Regions from separate parts of the Homo sapiens genome. Here region 1 is linked to region 2. The links are contacts of gene promoters, found by promoter capture Hi-C in blood cells and fetal thymus (Javierre and others, 2016). All regions are on one chromosome and are shown on one strand. Each heading gives the region's core, a stretch centred on a gene start or on the middle of the fragment in contact. The rest is flanking DNA. Distances are from core to core; before and after follow the strand shown.

Region 1 (4,130 bases), core at 1,369-3,868, 110 kb after region 2:
GAATTAATGGATAGAGACATTTAACAAATTCTAGATGAAAATGCTGGTATTCAGTGGTAATAATATAGCAACAAGTTTCCATATGAAACACAAAAATGCTATGCTACTATCTTCTTTTAAAATGTCCATGATAGGCTGGGCATGGTGGCTCACGCCTGTAATCCTAGGACTTTGGGAGGCCGAGGCAGGTGGATCATTTGAGGTCAGGAGTTCGAGACTAGCCTGGCCAACATGGTGAAACCCTGTCTTTACTAAAAATAAAATTAAAAAAAAATTAGCCAGGTATGGTGGCACATGCCTGTAGTCCTAGTTACTTGGGAGGCTGAGGCAGGAGAATCGCTTGAACCCGGGAGGCAGAGGTTGCAGTGAGCTGAGATTGCACCACTGCGCTCTAGCCTGGGTGACACAGCAAGACTCCCACCTCCAAAAAAATCAAGAAATAAAAGTCCATGATAAGAATATGTAATGTTGCCATACACACGTGCATGCACACACACACGCACATACACGTGTGTGTGTGCGTGTGTGTGTGTGTGTGTGTGTATAGAGAGAGAGAAAGAGAGAGAGAGAGAGAGAGGGTCTTACTCTGTTGCCCAGGCTGGAGTGCAGTGGTGCAATCATGGCTTATTGAAGCCTTGGCCTCCCAGGCTCAAGTGATCCTCCCACCTCAGCCCCCTGAGAAGCCAGGACTACAGGCGTGTGCCACCATGCTTGGCTAATTTGTAAATTTTTTGTAGGGACAGGGTCTTGCTTGTTGCCCAGGCTGGTCTCAAACACCTGGGTTCAACCAATCCTTCCACCTCGACCTCTCAAAGTGTTGGGATTACAGGCGTAAGTCACCGTGCCTGGACTGTATATTTTGTGTGTGTGTGTGTTCTCTGAACAAGCTTCTTGAAAGCAGGATCTGTGTTTTATTCACCCTTATATCCCCAAAGCCTGGCAATGCCTGACTTGGAGTAGGCAGGAATTTTGTCAGTAATGTACTGAGCATTCACAACATGTGTCAGACACTCTTCCAGGGCTGATACGCATAGTAACTCTTAATTCTCATAATCACCTAATGCGGTTGGTTATATTATCATTTCCATTTTTTAGATTACAAAATGGGGCATGAAGAGGTTGAGTAACTTGCTGGAGGTTATGAAGTAAGAGCTGAGATTTAGACCAGGGCTGTTTTGTTCTAGAGCCCACGACCATCCTCTACCACATCTGCAGTGTTTGTAGAACTGAATTAAAGATGAGTGAGTAGATCTGTCAAACTTGTGCCAGGGAAAGCCCATAAGCTTACACCAGACACAGCTAGAAAGACATTGAGGAAGTCCTGGAAACCACCAGTGTGTTTTTAGGTGACTCATGGAGGCAAGAGAGCAAGTTGCAATGTCTCCGAGGGTAGTTGGTTTAGGAAAGGATGAAATATGTCAGAAAAATCTATGTACATAAATAAAACCAAGCAGCTGTGTTCACATTAAGATCCAAACGGAAACCCAGCTGAAGTAGGAGCCGTTGGATCTGTCCCACCAACCTGTTGTGAGCATGAGCTAGGTAAATATTTGGCTGATACAAGGTCCATCACAGGTTAATAGCTCTGGTCATTACCAAGCCTGGTTATGCTGGAATTGCATGTAGTCTCAACTGGACACTCATGTTTAAGCACAATTTAAAAAATCACCAAGGGAAACCAGGAAGCAACACTTCTATTTGGGAAGTCAACTAATGGAAAGTTTTCTAAAATAAGTAACACAGCTTCAGCTTCAGCAATGGGATTTGTGACATCCCTCCCGTGTCACAGTTAATGTCTACCTTGTTTAATACCACATAATAGTACTTTTAGCCTTCAGAACCTTGAAACTGCATAACTACTGGAACAGTTTAAAAAGAATGAGAACATAATGATTTCATACAGCCCATACGTTTCCCAAATAAGTAAAGGGAAGCTGACTTACGGCAATGAGAGGCGGTGTGGTAACCCGGAGAAACTAGGCTGTCGGTGGGACACATGGGTGTGAATCAGCTCTGCTACTTACATGCTCTGTGTGTCTCCGCAGGACACTTAACCTCTTTGAGCCTTACTTTCGTCATCTGGAAATCAAGAGGGTTGCCCTAGATAATTCTAAGGACCGGCCCAGCTGAAGGTTTGTGAGTGCATGAGAAGCCTGCGGTGGGTAAGGTTATGGTGTCAGCTTCCACGTGGTCTGCGTATACAGTGAAGCCCACGTGCCCTGCTCCATTTGGAGAGGCAGCTTGGCCAAGGTGTAGAATTGGAATCATCTGCATTGGAAGCTGCCTTTTGAAAGTGCTAGCAGTGTGCCCCAAGCGCTTGTTTTCTGATGGAGCTGATCTGCCCTGCCCAAGCACTAACTGGGAAGCTCTTACCCTTATTTTCCCTTTGCCCCAATTCCTTTAACTTTTTTTTTTTCTTTTTTTTGAGATAGAGTCTTGCTCTGTTGCCCAGGCTGGAGTGCAGTGGCATGATCTCGGCTCACTGCAAGCTCCGCCTCCCAGGTTCACACCATTCTCCTGCCTCAGCTTCCTGAGTAGCTGGGACTACAGGCGCCCGCCACCACGCCCGGCTAATTTTTTGTATTTTTAGTAGAGACGGGGTTTCACCGTGTTAGCCAGGATGGTCTTGATCTCCTGACGTCGTGATCTGCTCGCCTCGGCCTCCCAAAGTGATGGGATTACGGGCTTGAGCCACCGCGCCCGGCCCCTTTAACTCTTTATCTCTTTTTATGGTGTGTATTTTTCTAAGCACCTCAAAAAGATTTCATAAGATATGAAATAAAGTGAGAGTATAAAGCTATTCTTTTTTTTAATCCTCCAAAGTGAGTTGTTTTTGTAGGCTAATCATAGAACTATTGTATGACCTGGCAATCCCACTTCTTGGTATATACCCAAGAGAACTGAAAGCAGGGACCTGAACAGATATTTGTACACAATGTTCATAGCAGCATTATTCACAATAGCCAAAAGGCAGAAACCACCCAAATGTCCCTCAACAGATGAATAAACAAAATGTGCTATATTCATACAATGAAATAGTATTCAGCCATAAAAAAGAAATGCAATATTGATATATGCTAAAATATTGATAGACATTGAAAACATTATGCTTAGTGAAATAATCCAGACAAAGAAAAACAAATATTATATGATTCCCACTTATATCAGGTACCCAGAATAGGCCAATTCGTAAGGCAGAAAATAAGATAGAAGGCCGGGTGCTGTGGCTTACACCTGTAATCCCAACACTTTGGGAGGCCGAGGCAGGTGGATAACTTGAGGTCAGGAGTTCCAGACCAGCCTGGCCAATATGGTGAAACCCTATCTCTACAAAAAATACAAAAAATTAGCTGTGCATGGTGGCACGTGCCTGTAATCACAGCTACTTGGGAGGCTGAGGCAGGAGAATTGCTTGAACCCAGGAGGTGGAGGTTGTAGTGAGCTGAGATCGTGCCATTGCACTCCAGCATGGGCAACAAGAACAAAATCCCGTCTCAAAAAAAAAAAGAAAAGAAAAGAAAAAAGGAAAAGAAAAGAAAAGAAGATAGAAAGTGGGACGTGGTGGCTCATCCCTGTAATCCCAGCACCTTGGGAGACCGAGGCAGGCAGATGGCTTGAGCCCAGGAATTTGAGACCAGCCTGGGCAACATGGCGAAACCCTGTCTCTACAAAAATACAAAAAATTAGGCAGACGTAGTGGCGTCTGCTTGTAGAAAAAAAAATAGAATAGAGGTTACCATGGGCTGGAGGAAGGGCCAAAAGAGAAGTTATTATTTAATGGGTACAGAATTTTTGTTAAAAATAATGAAAAAGGTTTTGGTATACATAGTGGTGATGGTTATACAACATTGTGAATGTATTTAATGCCATTGAATTGTGAAGGTTAAAATGATAAATATTATGTATGTTACCACAATAAAACATTTAAGTAGGCTGTTTTTTGTGCTTCTGTCGAAAGCTTTTGTGTGTGTGTGTAAATTGGCTCTCTGTAATGTGAAAGAGAAAGGTGAGAAAATGAGCAAGGAAATAGTTGCTTAATAACGAAATCTGACTGGAAATCATGAAGGGCTGAATTGCACGTGTTTGCATCTGTGTGTCAGCAGTTGGGCGAGTTTGGGAAGACTCCAGGA
Region 2 (4,040 bases), core at 1,233-3,732:
GGTGGGAGAATCGCTTGAGCCCGGGAGGCGGAGGTTGCAGTGAGCGGAGATCGCACTACCGTATTCCAGCCCGGGCGACAGAGTGAGACCCTGTCTCAAAACAAAACAAATGAACAAACAAAAAAACAGGAGCTGCCATCTGCAGATGTATAGTGTCAGAAAAAAAAATAATTTTTCAAAAATGGAGTTGTTAATTCAAAATTTTGCATTGCTGTTTTCTTCTGTGGAAAGTTAATTTTTTAAGGTAGAATTACAACACTATAAAAACCTGTCCATTGGCCGGGCGCGGTGGCTCACGCCTGTAATCCCAGCACTTTGGGAGGCCGAGGCGGGCGGATCATGAGGTCAGTAGATCGAGACCATCCTGGCTAACACGGTGAAACCCCGTCTCTACTAAAAAATAAGCCGGGCGTGGTGGGGGCTCCTGTAGTCCCAGCTACTCAGGAGACTGAGGCAGAATGGCGTGAACCCGGGAGGCGGAGTTTGCAGTGAGCCGAGATCATGCCACTGCACTCCAGCCGGGGCGACAGAGCGAGACTCCGTCTCAAAACAAACAAACAAAAAAACAAACCTGTCCATTATCTTTTTTATAGAATTAGCATGAATTATATTCAGTTAATGTCTTGGACCTAAAATCTGGGACCAGCAATTTAGTTATATATTATATGCTCTTAGATAGTTATATGACCTTAAGTTTCTCTTAATTAGGAAAAAAAAAAATTCCCTCACAGGACACTTGGAGTTATCAAATATTTAGAAGTTACCTTCATCCCTACTAAATATCATCAATTGTGTTTATTCTTCTTTACAGGGACAATCATATTTCCAGTTTTGGTTGTGAGTTTCTAATGTCATTTAAAAAGAAACCTAACTGGTGAAAAATGTACCTTAGGAAATCGGTGGGTCACTTTTTAAAATAAGTACTGTAATGATTAAGAGATGTAAAAACAATCTTTTCTTCCTCCTTTTGTTTGGGGTAAAGTGATAGAGAAGTATAAGATTGTCCCTTCAGAGTTACTGAAACTTTCCTTTAAATATTATGTCCCTCTATCACATGCGAAATAACTTCTCCTTTAATTTTTAAGTAGTTATTGTTTTGGGCTCTCAACTTTTATTTTTACCTAAGTTTTGTACATTAGACAGCCTAAGTTTATTCTGTGATAAGATATATAGATCTTAAGTTTTCTATCAGCACTTCTCCACACATTATTGGGATGAACTGAAGAGGTTTACTGACCACTAGTGTGGTCTTCCCGGTAATGATTATGTAGTGATTGGATGCCATCCAGATTCCTTGGTCTGTCTGCATCTTTTCTTGAGCTTTACCTCATTATTTCCCTGTCCTGTCCACCCCAAGTTATGTTCGCTACTTGGTGAAAAGCTCTTGGCATATGGGATAGTCTCCTTTTCAAGCGTGTCATCTTGTAGTAAGAAAGCCTTGCCTGCGGCCAGTATATAAGTGGGTTTCCATATACCTGGACCAACTGAACAGCTGCCAGAATGGACTCAAGTGAGCAGAACATGAATCTAGATGATTACTATTTAATCACTGTAGCCAGTGATTGTGTATTACCAAGTAGTGAGACTGGGAGGGTGGGAATAGAAGAAGCAGTGGGATGACTACTGACATAACTTAAAAGTTAATGGGAGTATATATCCACTACTTATGAGCCTCTCATACCAATTAAGCTGTGGTGATACAAAAGAATATACTAGGCATTCCCAATCATGTTGCATCATCTAGCATTGCTCACTTAGAGCTGGGAGGAAAAAAATCAGCCAGAATCAGCATTATCAACTCCGTTGCAAGAAGGAATTACAAGACACATGATTTGAAAAGTGTAAATGTAAAAATATCAATTGAATACCCATTGACACTAAGCAAGTTTCTTTGTTTTTGAGCAACACTAATTTTGAGTACTTAAGACTGGTGCTTTACACACACCACTCCAAAAATCCACATAACCCCTGATTTGGTGTTTTCAGAAGAAAGATCAGAATAGTCTTGTCCTAGATTCCACAGCTTGTTAAGCAGCACAACTGTTATGAAAACCTTATTTCCGTACCCATGTTCTCTTCCACGAGGCTACCCTGCTTCCCCACCTCAACCCTGCTCTCCCCATCAACCTAGGTTCATCCTGGATTTGAACTTAATAATAGTGCTAATCATGAAAGTTAGGAAGAAATGGATCTTTCTTCCCTATAGGACTGAATGTAGTTACTCCAATTAAAACAGTAAAGTGAATAACTTCATGAAGTTCAAGGTTGGAATGCCATGAAGAATTATGCCCTGGGCGGCTTTACAATGGATAGGCCAATACGTCGCCACGGCTTTTAAGACTGGGAAACGGGGCACCAGGCTGGGCTTTAGAAATCGCTGGAGAAGCCTGGGTGCGGCCGCAGCCCGCGCGGCCTAGGACGGAAGCGACGCCCCGCCCCGCTCCGCGCCCCGGGCAGCCGTGTGCAGGCGCCTGCGGGCGGTATCCTCGGCGACGCCGTATGGCTTCCAGGGCGAGGCCATGTACCGGGTGCCCGAGTTTTATGCGAGGAGGAAGCGGTTAGGTGGGCAGACCCCTTACTTGATGGATGTAAGTGCAGCCTTGGTCGCCCCCATACCCGGGCTGGGCGCAAGGCGGGCCCTGCTGCCCCCAACCGGCGCCGCGCCCCTCGCCCTCCTCCAGAGGCGGGTCGTCGCCTTCGCCCCGGGCTGGCGGTTCTCAAAGACACCTGGCCATATTTGCCTAGAAAAAAAAAAAACTCTGGTGTATTTGACAGATGGTCAGAATTGAATTCTGGCTCCCTGCGCAGGTAGTTAGATATTTACGAAATCCCACCTCACCACCTCTAATTGGTTGGTTGCAAAATAGGGAGACCTACTGCGGGGGAAGCAGCCCCGCTCTGGATAGAAAGGCTGGTGGGTGCTAGCTTCCACGGTGAAAAGGGTGTACTTAACTTTTTGCCACTGCCTGTAAAGGGCAGGCTCAGTGTTGGAGCCCGGAAGTCTCCAGAACCAGACAGCTGAGGCTGTCCTGGGTATCAGTTTATTGTCTGAATTTCAATTAATTGGTAGATTGCTATGATGAGCTATATGTAGTCCCAATTTCCTTCCTATCTTTCGCCCTTCCCTTCCTCCGCTGCTTCTTTCCTCTTTTCCTACTTTCCTCCCTTCCTTTCTCCCTCTCCCTCCTTCCTGCCGTTCTACTGAAGCCACACCTAAAATCAATCAAAGCGATAAAATCCTAGCTTCAAGTTTAACGCTTTAGGATTCTACACTCTTACTGAAAGTGTAAAGAGGGACTAGTAGGAACCATTGTTTTTTGTTTCCTTCTTATTACTTAAAAGATGTGTTAGTAAGTAGGAATTATTGTTAAAGGTTTATTGTGGCATATGGATTGTAAATTGAGCTTTTAATTATTTTTGCTGCAATCATTTCGTTTTACAGCAGTTGGGATTACGATTAGGGATGTGGTACTGGAAAGATGAAACCAGAACTCTTGAATTCAGAAGGTAAAATTTAACAACACTTTATTAGAGTTTTTATAAAAATTACATGTGCCTGGGGGAAAAAAAAGCAACAGAAGAGTATAGAGAATAAATACCCACTGAACCTTTGCCATCTGGAAGGAAACAATCATTTCAGTGAACAGCCTTTCTCTGAACGCTTACCAGCTGCTTCACATGGACCAGACACTGTGCTAATGTTTACCAACTCTTTGAAACAGCTGCATGTTAACCAATTTACAGATGAAGAAACTGAGGTTTCAAAGGGTTCAGCGACTTGAGGAAAATTAAGTGACTTAGCCCAATCACACAGCTCAGAGGTGACTAAGATTATTTAAATGTAGGTCTGTTTGATTTACAGAGTCCATGTTTTTAATTATAAAATTGCCTTTTTGAGTTAGAGAAATATAGTTAACATTAATGGGAACATATTATATCTGCTGCAATAGATGGTGAATCTCACAAGGTAAAATTACTAAATTAGAAAAAACTGATTCTAATCTCTATGAAAAAAGACACTGACTCTTACAAGTGTATAG

The links. The method cuts DNA at HindIII sites, captures the fragments that hold promoters and counts their contacts. A CHiCAGO score of 5 or more calls a contact.
Region 1: a contact is called between a fragment that was not itself captured here and the fragment with the promoter of PPP1R36 in region 2, in 1 of 17 cell types (megakaryocytes). The highest score is 6.5, in megakaryocytes.

What each region holds. Positions count from the first base shown.
Region 1 is chr14:64,653,105-64,657,234 of GRCh38, forward strand. No RefSeq gene overlaps it. Among named protein-coding and RNA genes, the nearest start is that of PLEKHG3, 49 kb to the right of the region's middle. The HindIII fragment of the contact is 2,675 bases long and covers 1,282-3,956 here.
Region 2 is chr14:64,547,479-64,551,518 of GRCh38, forward strand. It overlaps PPP1R36 (protein phosphatase 1 regulatory subunit 36), which reads left to right and starts at 2,483. Exons shown (of 12, transcript NM_172365.3): 1 at 2,483-2,588; 2 at 3,443-3,507. The coding sequence starts at 2,520. RefSeq lists a silencer at 2,349-2,638. The HindIII fragment of the contact is 10,629 bases long and covers 1-4,040 here.